Linked DNA regions of Homo sapiens: all the other regions are linked to region 1. Evidence: promoter capture Hi-C in 16 types of primary human blood cells and fetal thymus (Javierre and others, 2016). All regions are on one chromosome and are shown on one strand. Each heading gives the region's core, a stretch centred on a gene start or on the middle of the fragment in contact. The rest is flanking DNA. Distances are from core to core; before and after follow the strand shown.

Region 1 (3,710 bases), core at 291-2,790:
TTCTGATGTCTACAACTACCATAATGTTCCACTGTGTAGATGTAACACAATTTACTAAATACCCAATATTAGCACATGTAGGATGCTCCCAATTTTTTGTTGTAGTTAAGTACAGTGATCCTGTGAAGAATACCTTCACACATACAGCTTTTCTGGCATTTAGTGTTATTTCCTTAGAACAGATTCCCAGAAGTAAGATCACTGGGTCAAAAGATGCAGACATTTTTATGGCTTTTAATACATACTGTAAAATTGCTTTTCGAAAGGAATATACTAATTTACAATGCCACCAGCACTTCTTTTAAGAATCCGTTTCTCCACACAAATCGTCAACATAGGTGCTATTAAGAATGCTAATCGATAAAATATTGTCCCGCCGTTGTTAAAATTTTGCAATTTTTGAGGCTCATAAAATTAAAGTTTCTTGAAGAATGAGTGTGTAACACAAAACATTCTTTTGGGACATCTTTATTTCTGGAAAACCTAAGACATTCTTACTTGTGAAGACCAGAAAAAGAACACATGTTGTTAGGATTGGCACAGAATTCAGTGTGACAGTCAATCTTAATGCCAGAACACTTGAACGAGGATTTTTCACTTATTTTGCTAGTTGTCACCAACAGTAGCAAAAGGAAAAATAAAATGCGGAAGAATGAAATGTTCTTACTGCAAACCGTACAAGATCACATTGAGGGGCTGGAGCTCTTACATTCAACTTTTCTTTCCTTTTTCTTCTTTTTAAACAATTTGCGATTGCAGCCTCTCCTTTTGTTTCCGGTATTACCTGCCCAGGAGCAGAATTCCTTACTTTCTCCGGAGAGAGGCCGGTCCCTGGGAGCGCTGCCCAGCCACCCGCACGCCTAGCCGCCCCGAGAGCCGCACTCGGCGGACCCGGTTCCTAGGCTCGTTCCCGGGGCACCTGGCGGGCGCCCACCTCCCGGGGGGCACGTGCTCCCGTACGCAGCGCGAGGGCAGCGGGTGCCTGGCTATTTATTAGGAAAAGCCCCGCGCGGACTCTCCGGATTGAGGAGGGTGGGAAACTCGGCTGCCCAGCGCTCCACCCGGGCGGCCGGGGCTGGCGCTTCTCTGCTTTCGGCCGGCGGCCTCATCCTGGGACAGGCAACCATGAGTCATCCGCTCCGCGGGTCACATGGGCAACGTGACCAAAATAAAGTTTCGGTATTTTAAGCCGCCAGAAAAGGGGACAACGGAGCTCACCGGGGGCGGGCACAGGAGGCGGGCGCAGGCGGGCGGCGCCGGGGCCGTGGGGACGCGGCGCCGAGGGGGCGGGGCCTGGCGGGAGGCTCGCCCCTCCCCCACGGCCGGCAGCGACGCCCGGACTCCTAGGCAGTCGGACTCCAGGGCGCGGCACCCCTGCGGACCTCAGCCCCGAGGCCCCCCGCGTCCGGCTCCCCACCGGCAGCGGCGGCGGGCTGCGGGATCCCGGAGATCCCGGCGCGTCCCCCACAGCCACCGGGACCCCACGCGCCAGCAGCGGCTTCCCCGGGAACGTCCTTCAGCCCCGGGAGCACGCGGGAAAAGCCCCAGCGTGCCAATGAGGGAGCGCCTTCCTCATGACGGTCACGCTCGGGGGCGGGGCTTCCCTTCGCCGCTCCCGAGTTCCGGGAACCCCCTTTGATTGGTCTGGACGGCCTGGGAAACACTGTAGTGACGCCCAATCAAAACGCCACGTCTCGGCCTCGAGGAAATATTCCGTGTCGGGCCCGTCCTGATTGGACAGTTCTTTCGGGTTCTGGCCACTAGGAAGCTTTGTTTAGGTCCGGAAGGCGGGCTTTCCTGGGAGTGGGTGGGGAGGGGGCGTTGATTCTTGACCAATCCTTTCAGTCCGTTGGGTGGTGACCAGCCAATGGGCCGGATGGATAGGACGCTCCTCCCGGAGAGTAGTGAGACCCCTGGTGCGGGGCGATTGGCGGCGGGAGCGATGAGTGGCAGCCGCACGGCCCAACGGGAGCTGTGCGTGGGCCGCGGGGCGGGGCCAGGGCGGGTGCGCGGCGGCGGCGGGGTGGCTGGGCCGGCGGCGGCGGCGGTACGAGGCGCGCGCTCGGGGTCCCGGTCGCGAGGAGGAGGAGGATGTGGCGCGCGGAGGGGAAATGGCTGCCGAAAACAAGCCGGAAGGTAAGAGCCGGAGCGCGAGGGGCTGGGGGGCGGCGCGGCGGGCGGCGGGACCCGGCCCCGCCGGACATCCCGGGCATCGGCGGCGCCGGGCGGGAGCGCGGGGGCGCGGCGGGCGGGCGGGCGGGCGACCCGGCCGGGGAGGGGGCCGGCGGGGTGGGGGGGCGGAGCGCGGCCGAGTCCTGAGGTGACTCGCGGGGCCGGCGGAGCGCGGCGCCCCACACCCCACCCCCGGGGGCGGGCTGGGGCCGGAGGGGGCGGGGGGCTCGCGGGGCGGGGACCGGGCCCAGCGAGGAGGAGGAGCCGGCGGAGGGCCGGCGCCTCCCCCACCCGGACCGGGCATCCCCGCCGCTCCCGAGCCCGCTGCGCGGCCCCCGCACCCCCGGCGCTGGGTCCACGGTGGGGGCCGCGGGGCGGAAAGTTTATCCGCCTCGGGTCCTCCTGGCCCCGCGCCCCACTGCTCCGGGCCGGTCCCCGTCGGGCGGCAGCGGCCGGCGCTCAGCCCTCGCCGGCCCCCTGCTCTCCGGCGGGCAGGGCCAGATGTACTCTCTCCGGCACCCTCTTCAGCCCCGTGGACACCTCCCTGAGCGGGCGGGGGGTCCCCGAGCTTCTCCCCGCCAGGGGGACCCCGTCCTGCCGAGCGTCCCTCGGCCGAAGGGCCTCGTGTGACCCCTCCCCCTTCGCTTCCCGGGAAGGGAAGGGGGCCTGCGCAGCATCCCCGCCCCTCGCAGTCGTTCACATCCTACTCTTGCCCTTGCACCCTCACAGCCAGGAGGGTGGGGTCTCCGTTTCTATGGCAAGTGAGGATCTCCACACTCCCTTGCCCTTTACCTTCCGTGACCCCGATCCTTCCTTGGCACAGGGGTCCGTCTGATCTGCTCATCTTCTTTGGATTCTTTTGGGGCCTCTGCACACTCTCCGTTGACCCTTTTTGCCAGGACAAGGGGACTCAGGCTGCCCATGTTCTTCTTTCCTCACCCAGTGGATAGTGGGGGCTTGTGCAGCTCTGAAGTCATTTCTAAATAGGAAAGCAGACACTTCTTCCAGATCATGCATACTCTTACACTTTGCTGGGTTAGGGCGAGCTCATTTCCTAAATACCCTTTGAGTTGCCCTCCTTTTCTTATGGAGACAACTGGACGTTCACCGTGCTCCTTTCGCCATTTGTGTGTCTACACTGACTTGTTCTCTCTTCTCGGAGTTCCTTGTCTGGGTGAGAGTGGGCGCCCCAATAAGATGTAGGGCAGGGCTTCCATTGTGCCTAGTGCTTGAGTGAAAAGGGGCCACACTAGTTGCTCCTGTGTCTGAGGAAGACCGGGGTATATTTTTGCCTCCACTTGACTCTTGTGTCTCAGGAGGGGGCAACCTTCATCAGTTGACACTACCTCACTGGGAAAAGGGTCATGTGGCCTTGTTTTTTGATGTTTTGATTACTGTCTTCTGTGCAGTGAGAACCAGACTTTGTCCGTCCCACACTCAAGAGTCCTTGAACCTTTCCTGGATATAAACTTCCCGATTGTTTTTTGAGAGAACTCATATCCTCCTCTGTGGCTTCTGCTTCGCAGTCAGCCATATTT
Region 2 (3,401 bases), core at 52-2,551, about 40 Mb after region 1:
GTATAGTGATATTTAAAGCCAGGGGTCTGGGTGAGATAACTGATGGAATGAATGTAGATAGAGCACTAAGAACTGAGCCCTAGACATGCCTACATTTAGAGATCAGGGGAAAAGGGAGAAACCAGCAAAGGAGACTGGAAAGTAGGGGCCAGTGATATACGAGGAGAACAAGGGTAAGTGGACCCTGGAGAGAATTCTGTGCTAAATAGTTCCCTAAGTCACACATTGGAGGACTATAAAGAGGGGAGTCATTAAAATGGTGCTAAGAAGCTGAGCTACAAGCAGTGGTGCAACATACTGGGAAGGCTGACTTAAGCTTAATTAGGGAAGGGCTTTCTAACTGAGCTGCCCATAAATGCATCAAGCTGCCTCAGGAGGTGGTGAGCAAGTTCCTGACTCAAGTGAGTCTTGAGTCCAGGGAGATTAGTTGCTGTGTGGGGAAAAATCTACCCCCAGGAGTCAAGCATGGCCCTGATGGTGGGATCAGATGGTGGAGATGAACTAGACAACTCTCAAAGTTTCTTCAAATTGGCGATGATATGATTCTGGGCAGTCTGTCACAGAGTAGGGGGGCTGAGCTGAGTCTTGAAGGATGAGCAGGTGTTCAGTGGTGGAAAAGTGGGCAGGGGCACTCCTGGGTGAAGGAGCAGCATGGGCACACCTCCAGAGATGTGAATGAGCAGGGTCTGTTCAGGAGTACGGACTAGGCAAAAGGGAAAAGTGTGTGGAGGACGAGGAGGGAAGTAAGGCTGGAAGTAGATGCAGGCCAGATGGTGGGAAGCCCCACAGGGCCTGGGGCCTGGGAAACACTTGTCAGCACTTGAAGGAAGGTAATTAAATAAAAGACAGATTGTTGGAGCCAAAGAAGGAGGTATTGACCACTTGGTTCCCTTGAGCAGGTTTCTTCCTGCCAACTTGGTTAGATACTTTTTGAGAACAGGGCTGCCCAATGCTGTGTGTTCCTTGTTACATTCCTCACTGGGGACAGGTATCCCATCAACCGTTCCCTAAAGACCAGCAACATCCGTAAGTACCTGAGGGACAATGGCCCTTTTCTGGGGTCTGCTCTGTGGGTTCACCATAAGGGGTAGGTACAGACAATTCAATAGGTGAACCAGTCTCTGATGGAAGTAGTAGTGACATTCCACCCAAAAAATGCCACTGGATGAAGTCCCCTCCTTCCATTAACCCAGGACCACTTCACAAGCACTGCCCCTAGAATGCCCAATTCTCAGAACCCAGTGACCTCTCCTTTAGAGAACAAAGGGCCTGGGCATTCTGGAGACTCTGATTGGCTGGGCAGATGGGCTGACTGGCTGGGCAGATGGGTGGGTGAGTTCCCTCTCCCCAGAGCCATCGGCCAGGTACCAAAGCTCAGCTGTATGGATTCCCAACAGGAGGACCTGCGCTTCCCTGGGAGTAAGTGCTCCTCCAGTCCCTGTCACTGGACTTGTGCCTTAGGGCTTGGGGACAAACACTCAGGGAAGGCCCTTTGCATGGATGGGACAGTGCCTGGCTGCCTGGAGGAGAGCTAAGCAGTTAGGAGATAGTCTACTCTAGAAAACTAAGAATTATTTTAAGGCAAAGACCATGCTCTGATCAACCAGAGAAGATACTATCAATAGCCCAGGACTATCACAGCTGAATGGAATGGGATGGGACATTGGTGTCTCTGTCAACTGATGAACTTTCACTTTTTTTTTTTTTTTTGAGATGAAGTTTTGCTCTGTTGCCCCGGCTGGAGTGCAGTGGCTCAATCTAGGCTCACTGTAACCTCCACCTCCTGGATTCAAGTGATTCTCCTGCCTCAGCCTCTGAAGTAGCTGGGACTGCAGGCATGCACCACCACACCTGGCTAATTTTAAAATTTTTAGTAGAGACGGGGTTTCACCATGTTGGCCAGGCTGGACTTGAAGTCCTGACCTCAAGTGATCTGCCCACCTGGGCCTCACAAAGTGCTGGTGAACTTTTGCTTCTTGATGGACTTGCCCATAGTGAAACTTCTCAGTCTGATGGATTGGATGGGTCCTGGGTTAGGAATCAGAGGCTTGACTGAGCCTGGGCAGCACATGCCCCCGCTAGACCTAGCTTTTGTGATCTGTAAAGAGTTAAAGGTGGTGCTTAAGCTCCCTGGAAATCTAGCTTTGACTGAATAAGGGAATGATGAGGCAAGTCAATAAGGGAGGGAAGGAACGGTGAGAGTAGTTAAGTGGATGGAGCGATTGATGCATGGGTTAAGTGAAAGAGGAATGAGAAACAGCTCAGGCCCCAAGCTACAGCTATCAGCCAGCATGCCTCTTTTTCTTTCTTGCTGCCTTAGTGTGGGTCTCATTGTACTTTGGAATCCTGGGGCTGTGTTCTGTGATAACTGGAGGGTGCATTATCTTTCTGCACTGGAGGAAGAACTTGAGGCGGGAAGAGCATGCCCAGCAGTGGGTGGAGGTGATGAGAGCTGCCACATTCACCTACAGCCCATTGTTGTACTGGATTAACAAGCGACGGCGCTACGGCATGAATGCAGCCATCAACACGGGCCCTGCCCCTGCTGTCACCAAGACTGAGACTGAGGTCCAGAATCCAGATGTTCTGTGGGATTTGGACATCCCCGAAGGCAGGAGCCATGCTGACCAAGACAGCAACCCCAAGGCGGAAGCCCCTGCTCCCCTGCAACCTGCACTGCAGCTGGCTCCACAGCAGCCCCAGGCCAGATCCCCATTCCCACTTCCCATCTTTCAGGAGGTGCCCTTTGCCCCACCCTTGTGCAACCTACCCCCCCTGCTGAACCACTCTGTCTCCTATCCTTTGGCCACCTGTCCTGAAAGGAATGTTCTCTTCCATTCCCTCCTGAATCTGGCCCAGGAAGACCATAGCTTCAATGCCAAGCCTTTTCCTTCAGAACTGTAGCCTCCTCTCACTGAAGGTGGGAGCTGCAGGAATCAGGTGCAGAGTAGGAAATGGAACTAACCTCAGGAAGGTGGTATTGACAGAGGTCAGGACCCACCTGGATGTCATGCTATGAAACATTAAAAGAAAAAAAAAAAAGTCCAAGGCTCCCTCGTTTCTCATTTGCTGTTAGGAAGGCAATGTCCTTCCTGTCTGATGGGGTCACTTTGCAAACCAAGTTGGTTGCTGAGTCTCACCAATATGAACTGGCACTGGTGGTTGGCTGTGGGGAGACACACTGAACCAGTACTTGTGGATGGACTCAATATCCCTCTGTTCAGTATTTAAAACAAAAATGTGTGCCAGGCCCTGGCCTAGGTACCCCAAGGCACTGGTGTTCTGTGGGATGTGAAGCACAGCTGCCACCAGAGTGATAGCTGCTGAGGGTACGTGAGCTATGTTGATTTACAGTCGCTATGTCACAGGCAAAATGAGTCATCACGAGCCCTGTGAGCCAC
Region 3 (3,450 bases), core at 419-2,918, about 40 Mb after region 1:
GGCTCATACTTCCTACAGTATATCTCTCACCATATTTCCCCACCACCAATATTCAGACTCATCAAGAGTGCAAAAACGAAATAATCTGCAGTCTTAAAGTCTCTGCTTCTCCTTTGTTCTACACTGTTTTAAAAAGTCTAGTCCCCAAAGCTTCTCTGCTCCTCTGTCTCCATTCTTTGCTTCTTTAGGACTCCCTGGGCTCTTGGCACATTCTCCAAGTCCACATTTCCACCTCAGATTTGGAGCTTTTCTTTCTACACCTAAAGACAGATCTCTAACTTATTCTTCATTCAGGATCTGAACTTACCTTCTCCCTAAAACCGTTTTTCCCTCTTTGACTTCCAAGGCCTACACCCTTTTTTCTTCCTAAGGACTTCCTTTCTCCTTCCTGTCAATGTGGCCCCTTGGTAGTGCAAGGAGATGCCTTCTTCCCATTCCACCTTTCACCACTACTCACTTGGCAAAGCGAGAGCGATTTCCAACCACACCGAATTCCTCTTCCTCTTCGGAGCTGGACTCAGAGTCTGAGTCGGGAGGCTCAGTGCGAAGCAGGCGGTGACTGCTTGGGCCTTTCTTGGGCTTCTTTCTCCGGCTGTCCCCAGCCAAACCAATCAATGCATTGAGCTCTTTGCGCTTTTTCATCTTTTTGTGTGGGGTGAGTGGAGCCCCGACTCCTGAGCTGCCAGGTTCGTACCCGATGCCCAATTCTCTTCCTGCCTTGGAGCTGCCTTCCAGGGTTGGGAATCCTGGGCCAGAGCCCCCTGGTCACTCCCACCTAGGGGTGGGACTGACCAGATCCGCCAGGGACTGGAGATTGGAGCCCAGAGGAAACTGGAACTCAGATGGGTGGGGGAAATCACATAGAAATGGCCAAGGAGCTGGTGACCCCAAAGGATAAGGCCTTGGGTGCAGAGTGTTAGTAGAGGGTGGAGAGGGACCTTTATCTCCCAAAGGGCGAAAAAAAAGCCAGGTCAAAAATGAAGGATTCTCAGCCCGGATAAGTAGGCAATACTTCTAAGGGTGCTCCAGGAGGTGAGGAAGGGCACGCTTAAAATACGTGTTTCGGACCTCCGGAGCAAGATTTCCAATGGAGAGGGAAGAGAAACTCGTTCTTGAATGGGAAGAGAGTGGGGAGGTGCAGAGTAAGAAAGTGGGAACGCGTCAGTCCCTTCCTTGCAGGAGAGGTGGCGGCAGGAGGGGGCTCCCAGCAGCTACAATCCCAACACTGCTTGGCCGCAGAGAAAATGCCCTGGCCAGGAAGCCGGCTGGGGTGTGTGATGATCACCGTTCTCCGGCCTCCGTCCTGAACGTGAAGGGGGCCCGAGGCCGAGGAAGATCCGGAGCCCGGCTAGAAGGGTCGGCCTGAGAGAAGCCAGTCCCGCGCCTGATAGACCCCCGCCCCGCTGTCTGGGCCTTGGGGACACGGTGCCGCGGGCGACGGCGGCTCGGCCGACCGAAAGCGCTCCCGCCCGGAGTTTGAGGTCTCCGGCACGGGCAACTCTCGGCCACTCACACGCGCAGGCCCCACTCCAGCCGCGACTCCGGCCCCTGCTCCGGCTTCGGCCGCGGCTGCTCCCGACACGTTGTTGTTGGCGTTGGTGGCGGCGGCTGCGGCGGCGGCGGCCGCGAGCTCCAGCCCCGGGCCATCGCTCCAGCCCCAGATCACTTCCCCTTTGGCAGCGGCCGCCTGCGCCGCCTGCCAGTAAGCCGCACTCCCATTGGTCGCCCGCTGGGGTGACGTCACGCCGGGGCGAAAGTCGTGGCGGAGAGGTGGGGCGTTAAAGGGGCCCTGCCCCGGCTGGGGCTGGGTCCCACCTGCCGATTAGGGTGGCCCCGCCCCCAGGAGGGCTTCCGGGACCTGCTGCGAACCTGAGCCGGGTGGAGTCCTGCATCCTGCGGAGCGCGGGCGGGGCAGGCAAAGCGCCCGGCTGCTCGACCTACTTCGAAAGTTCATCAGCCGCCCACGCCCCCTGGACTAACCAAGTCTGAAGGCTCCGCCTCTCTGACTCTCACACAGGCTGTTAAAAGTTTAGGCGCGTTTCAGATTAATTAACACATTCATTCAGTCAATAAATATTTATTGAGAGCTTACTTACTACGTGTCAGGAGCTGTTCTAGCGCTGGGGATACAGCCATGAACAAAATAACCAGGGTCCTTGTCTTCCTGTATAGTGTTGCCAGATTTAGCAAATAAAAATGTAGGACACCCAGTAAAGTTTGAATTTCAGAGAAACAGCAAACAATTTTTTAGCATTAAGACATCCCATGCAACATCTGGGACATCCTCACACTAAAAAATTATTCATTGTGTATGTGAAATGCAAGTTTAACTGAGCATCGTGTATCTTATCTGCCAATCTATTCCTGCAGTTTATTTATACTCTAGAGGGAGGAGAGCAACAATAGGCAAACATATTAAATGTCAGGAGGTGATAAGTGTTATGATGAAAATTGAAACACGGTCAGGTGATGGGGAGTGCCTCTGTGAAAAGGGAACATTTAGTCAGCTTATCGGAGGAGAGGTGAGGGAATGAGCTGTGCAGTGGCTGCAGGAAGGAGTGACCAGGAAGACCTGTTGTGGCTGGACCAGAAGAGCAAGGAGCAGAGTGATAGGAAATGAGGTCAGAGAAGCATCAGAGGCCAGGGCTTTAGGGCCTTATGGATCACTGAAAGGACTTTGGGAAAGCACTGGGGGCTTTAAGCTGAGAGGTAGCATACTCTGGCTTTTCCGTAAAAAAAAAAAAAAAAAAAAAAATTCACTCTGGGCCAGCGCGATGGCTCACGCCTGTAATCCCAGCATTTTGGGAGGCTGAGGTGGGCGGATCACAAGGTCAGGAGATGGAGACCATCCTGGCCAATATGGTGAAACCTTGTCTCTATTAAAAATACAAAAATTACCTGGGCGTGGTGGTGCGCGCTTGTAATCCCAGCTACTTGGGAGGCTGAGGCAAGAGAATGGCTTGAAACCGGGAGGCGGAGGTTGCAACAAGCCGAGATTGCACCACTGCACTTCAGTCTGGCAACAGAGCGAGACTCCGTCTCAAAAATAAATAAATAAATAAATAAATAAATAAATAAATAAATAAATAAATAAATAAAATAAAATAAAATAAAGGAAAAAATTACTCTGGCTACTTTGTAGAAAAAAGTGGGGGGAGAGTGAGGAACACAGGAGAGCAGTTTGTTACAGTCCAGCTAGAGATGATGCTGATAGATTAGAGAGGCAGTAGCAGAGATGGAGAGCATTCTGGATGTTTCTTGAAGACAGAGCTGACAATTTTTGCTGATAGATTAGATGAAAGGTGTGAAGAGAAGAGAGGGTTTGGCGGTGGAAACACTGGAAGCAAGGAATTGTTATTTATTGAGATGGGGTAGAGCAAGTTTGGGACAAGTTTGACAAGCCAATTCAATATTCAAATGGAGGCTGTTTGGTATACCCATTGAGAGTTC
Region 4 (3,827 bases), core at 813-3,312, about 41 Mb after region 1:
GACAGTTTATGCTGGAACAGCACATTAAATGGATCCCCTTGGTCAGAGGTCCCAGAGGGGGCCCAGGCGACTTCCTCTCAAAGGACATGAGTAGTCAGACCTGCCTTCCATTTTTTTCTGCCCTTACCTTGGGGGGATGAAGAACTCTATTTTGAGGATTCTGTGAAAAGGGTTGCAACCCAACTCTGTTCTATTTCTTTGCAGGAGCCTGGGTGAGTTCTTTCTCCCTATCCTGGGCCTCTGTAGCTCCATCTGTGGAATGGGAGAGTTGGATTAACACCAGGCTATCCCGTAGATTGGAGGCTGCTGTTAGATGAAACTGCAAAGTGTTCTCAGTACCCTTTCCTAAATGGCCTAGAATATGGCTACACTTATACATCAGTTCTGAGGTAGGTGTTACTAGCCTCATTTTTACAAAGGCAGAAACAAAGCGCAAAGAACCTTGCCCAAGGTGACAGATAGGGTAAGTAGTGAAGGCAGGATTGGAACCCCAGGAGCCTGACTTAAGGTCGCTGCTCTTAACTACTATGCAGACCAGGAAACTGAGGCTCCGAAGCGGGGAAGTCACCTAATGAGGGTCACACAGCCTTGCTACAGCGGAGGCAGCTGGGATTCCGGCCTCGCACGCCCGAGCTTTAGCCACTGTGCGGCGCTGTCGGGGCAGCAGCCCAGGCATCCGCTCAGTTCCTGCTCACGTCCAGCGCCCATCTCCCCTTCCGTGCCCCAGAGGCTGAAATGGGCCCAATCTGTGTTGAAGCTGCTTGTTTCTGGGTCCTGGAGGGAGGCCGGGGGAGAAAGAGGTCTAATAGGATGGGCAGGAACCCGGCTAGCGAGAAACAAGGCACAGGGCCAACCTTAGTTGCACAAGACTTTTGAGAGATGAAGGCAACACTTGGTGGAGGTCAGGGTTCACTGAGGGGGTGTCGGGCAGGGGGCGGAGGAGGTCCTGCCGCCTGTCGGTGGGGCCCAGAACCCTGGGAGCCAGGAAGGTGGGGGGTGTCCAGTCCTCAGGGCAACTGGGGCCAGGGAGAGGGGAGGGAGAAATTAAGCGGATTCCCAGACCCATGAACAGACATCCAGACAAATGCCGTTTCCACAGAGACTCACGGAGAGTGAGATAGTCACAGAGACTGAGACAAACGGATGCCGAGATCCAGAGGGTCGGAGAACAGGCAAACTCGGAGCAGTAGACCGGCCCGCGCCCCGGGAACGCGGCCACAGCGGCCGGCGCTCTGCCCGGCCTCTCCGCGCGGAGAGGGGTGGCGGGCCCGACAGCGGAGGGAGGAGAGGGCGCCGCCGCAATCTCACCTCTCCCAGGCCCAAGGCTGCGGGCGCCAAGTTCGCTCCTGGTGATCACTCGAATGCGTCTCCCCTCGGGCTGGAAGCCGTGCGGGCTCGGGTGGGCGCCGGCGGGCCGCGCTGGGGCGGCGTGGGTCCCGGCGTCTCAGCCTCGCGCTCCCACTGCGCTTCGGCCCGGTGGCCCGGGCGCCGCCTTGGGGAGAGGACGGGTGGGGACCGCCGCCACTTCCCTGGCTGCGGCTGGCGCCCGAGTGAGCCTTAACATCCAGGGGCTGAGCGTTCTGAAGGCGGCGGCTTCAGGGAGCACAGGGTGCAGGAGCGGCGGCGAAGACAAGGGCCCGCCTCCGGCCACTCGAGCCCAGCTCCCGCCGCGGCGGCGGTTTGTTCCCGCCGGGTCCCTCAGCGGAGGCGCTACGCCCGCCCCTGTCGCCTCGCCCCACCCCGCCCAGGGAGCTCCGCCCTAGCCCGCAGCTCTTCCGCCTTAGGCAGCCGCTAGGCGGGAGGGACAATCCCCCACCACCAACCACTGCCACCCCGAGGGGACTAGGGGCTGAGGCCCGCCCAGGTAAGGGAAAGCCTCAGCTCCTTCCGTTGCGCCCCAGCGGCGGGTCCCAGCTCGGATTCCCGGGGTAGTGGCGGGGGCCGCCGGCGGGTCGTGCCCTGGAAGGTGAGCGCGGCCGAGCTGGGCCGCCAGGGGGCGCTGCGGAGCCGGGGGACACCCCTCCCTGCCTGCCTCAGTCCCCCGCCCCCTCCCCGCCCGCGCGCAAAACGCACTCGCCCCAGAGGCAGCGCGGCCGAGCCCGAGCCGCTGCCGGAGCGGAGCCGGAGAGTGGCGGCGGCGGCGGCAGCGGCACCATGACCCTGGGCAGCTGCTGCTGCGAGATCATGTCCTCCGAGAGCTCCCCGGCCGCGCTGTCCGAGGCCGACGCAGACATAGACGTGGTGGGCGGCGGCAGCGGCGGGGGGGAGCTCCCAGCTCGCTCCGGGCCCCGCGCCCCCCGGGACGTGCTCCCCCACGGCCACGAGCCTCCCGCGGAGGAAGCCGAGGCAGACTTAGCCGAGGACGAGGAGGAGTCTGGTGGCTGCTCGGACGGCGAGCCCCGCGCTCTGGCGTCCCGGGGGGCGGCGGCCGCAGCGGGGAGCCCGGGGCCAGGCGCCGCGGCGGCCCGCGGCGCAGCGGGGCCCGGGCCGGGACCGCCGTCGGGGGGCGCGGCGACGCGGAGCCCGCTGGTGAAGCCGCCCTACTCGTACATCGCGCTCATCACCATGGCCATCCTGCAGAGCCCCAAGAAGCGGCTGACGTTGAGCGAGATCTGCGAGTTCATCAGCGGCCGCTTCCCCTACTACCGGGAGAAGTTCCCCGCCTGGCAGAACAGCATCCGCCACAACCTCTCTCTCAACGACTGCTTCGTCAAGATCCCCCGCGAGCCGGGCAACCCGGGCAAGGGCAACTACTGGACGCTGGACCCGGAGTCGGCCGACATGTTCGACAACGGCAGCTTCCTGCGGCGTCGCAAGCGCTTCAAGCGGCAGCCCCTGCCGCCGCCGCACCCACACCCGCACCCTCACCCGGAGCTGCTGCTGCGTGGCGGGGCCGCGGCGGCGGGGGATCCCGGCGCTTTCCTGCCCGGCTTCGCTGCCTACGGCGCCTACGGCTACGGCTACGGGCTGGCTCTCCCGGCCTACGGCGCACCCCCGCCGGGGCCGGCCCCGCATCCGCACCCGCACCCGCACGCCTTCGCTTTCGCCGCGGCAGCCGCCGCCGCTCCTTGCCAGCTGTCGGTACCCCCAGGCCGCGCCGCCGCGCCTCCACCCGGACCTCCGACGGCCTCGGTGTTCGCAGGCGCGGGATCGGCCCCAGCTCCTGCGCCTGCCTCAGGCTCGGGCCCGGGCCCGGGCCCCGCAGGCCTGCCCGCCTTCCTGGGCGCGGAGCTGGGCTGCGCCAAAGCCTTCTACGCGGCGTCCCTGAGTCCTCCCGCAGCCGGCACCGCGGCGGGTCTGCCCACCGCACTTCTGCGCCAGGGCCTCAAGACGGACGCGGGCGGTGGTGCAGGCGGCGGGGGCGCCGGGGCAGGGCAGAGGCCTTCCTTCTCTATAGACCACATCATGGGCCACGGTGGCGGCGGGGCAGCACCCCCGGGCGCCGGCGAGGGCTCTCCGGGACCGCCATTCGCGGCAGCCGCGGGTCCTGGGGGCCAAGCCCAGGTCTTGGCCATGCTGACTGCTCCGGCCCTGGCTCCCGTTGCTGGCCACATTCGCCTCTCGCATCCCGGGGACGCGCTGCTGTCCTCAGGGTCCCGGTTTGCCAGCAAAGTCGCCGGCCTTAGTGGCTGCCACTTCTGACCGCAGCAGGCCCAGGGCCGGTTAGGTCCGCACTCCTCAGCCTCTCCCGGGAGTTCCTGCGGTCCCAGCGGAACTCAGGGAGTCTATTTATGAAGTCTCCAGACCTTGGGCCGGCACGCGTGACACGGCACTTCAGGCTCCACGCACAGAATCTCGCAGATAGTTGGGACTAAGCGGGCTCTATC

What was found. The method cuts DNA at HindIII sites, captures the fragments that hold promoters and counts their contacts. A CHiCAGO score of 5 or more calls a contact.
Region 2: a contact is called between the fragment with the promoter of TEX38 here and the fragment with the promoter of CAMTA1-DT in region 1, in 1 of 17 cell types (non-activated CD4 T cells). The highest score is 8.4, in non-activated CD4 T cells.
Region 3: the fragment with the promoter of EFCAB14 here is called in contact with the fragment with the promoter of CAMTA1-DT in region 1 in 1 of 17 cell types (total CD4 T cells); the score reaches 11.0 in total CD4 T cells.
Region 4: the fragment with the promoter of FOXD2 here is called in contact with the fragment with the promoter of CAMTA1-DT in region 1 in 1 of 17 cell types (total CD4 T cells); the score reaches 5.3 in total CD4 T cells.

The regions. Positions count from the first base shown.
Region 1 is chr1:6,783,440-6,787,149 of GRCh38, forward strand. It overlaps CAMTA1-DT (CAMTA1 divergent transcript), which reads right to left and starts at 1,541. Exons shown (of 3, transcript NR_149049.1): 1 at 1,219-1,541; 2 at 710-784; 3 at 453-606. It overlaps CAMTA1 (calmodulin binding transcription activator 1), which reads left to right and starts at 2,015. Exons shown (of 23, transcript NM_015215.4): 1 at 2,015-2,136. The coding sequence starts at 2,092. RefSeq lists enhancers at 381-1,057, 1,058-1,732 and silencers at 858-917, 998-1,057, 1,188-1,597, 1,938-2,097, 2,308-2,577 and 1 more. The HindIII fragment of the contact is 4,377 bases long and covers 1-1,766 here.
Region 2 is chr1:46,670,553-46,673,953 of GRCh38, forward strand. It overlaps TEX38 (testis expressed 38), which reads left to right and starts at 1,302. Exons shown (of 2, transcript NM_001145474.4): 1 at 1,302-1,419; 2 at 2,321-3,042. The coding sequence starts at 1,383. The coding sequence ends at 2,904. The HindIII fragment of the contact is 3,767 bases long and covers 315-3,401 here.
Region 3 is chr1:46,717,446-46,720,895 of GRCh38, forward strand. It overlaps EFCAB14 (EF-hand calcium binding domain 14), which reads right to left and starts at 1,669. Exons shown (of 11, transcript NM_014774.3): 1 at 458-1,669. The coding sequence starts at 642. RefSeq lists silencers at 1,474-1,523, 1,844-1,893. The HindIII fragment of the contact is 11,051 bases long and covers 149-3,450 here.
Region 4 is chr1:47,435,982-47,439,808 of GRCh38, forward strand. It overlaps FOXD2 (forkhead box D2), which reads left to right and starts at 2,063. Exons shown (of 1, transcript NM_004474.4): 1 at 2,063-3,827. The coding sequence starts at 2,155. The coding sequence ends at 3,642. LINC01389 (long intergenic non-protein coding RNA 1389) reads right to left here and starts at 1,336. Exons shown (of 5, transcript NR_126355.1): 1 at 1,309-1,336. RefSeq lists silencers at 543-702, 1,183-2,082, 2,113-2,292 and an enhancer at 3,481-3,827. The HindIII fragment of the contact is 12,776 bases long and covers 1-3,827 here.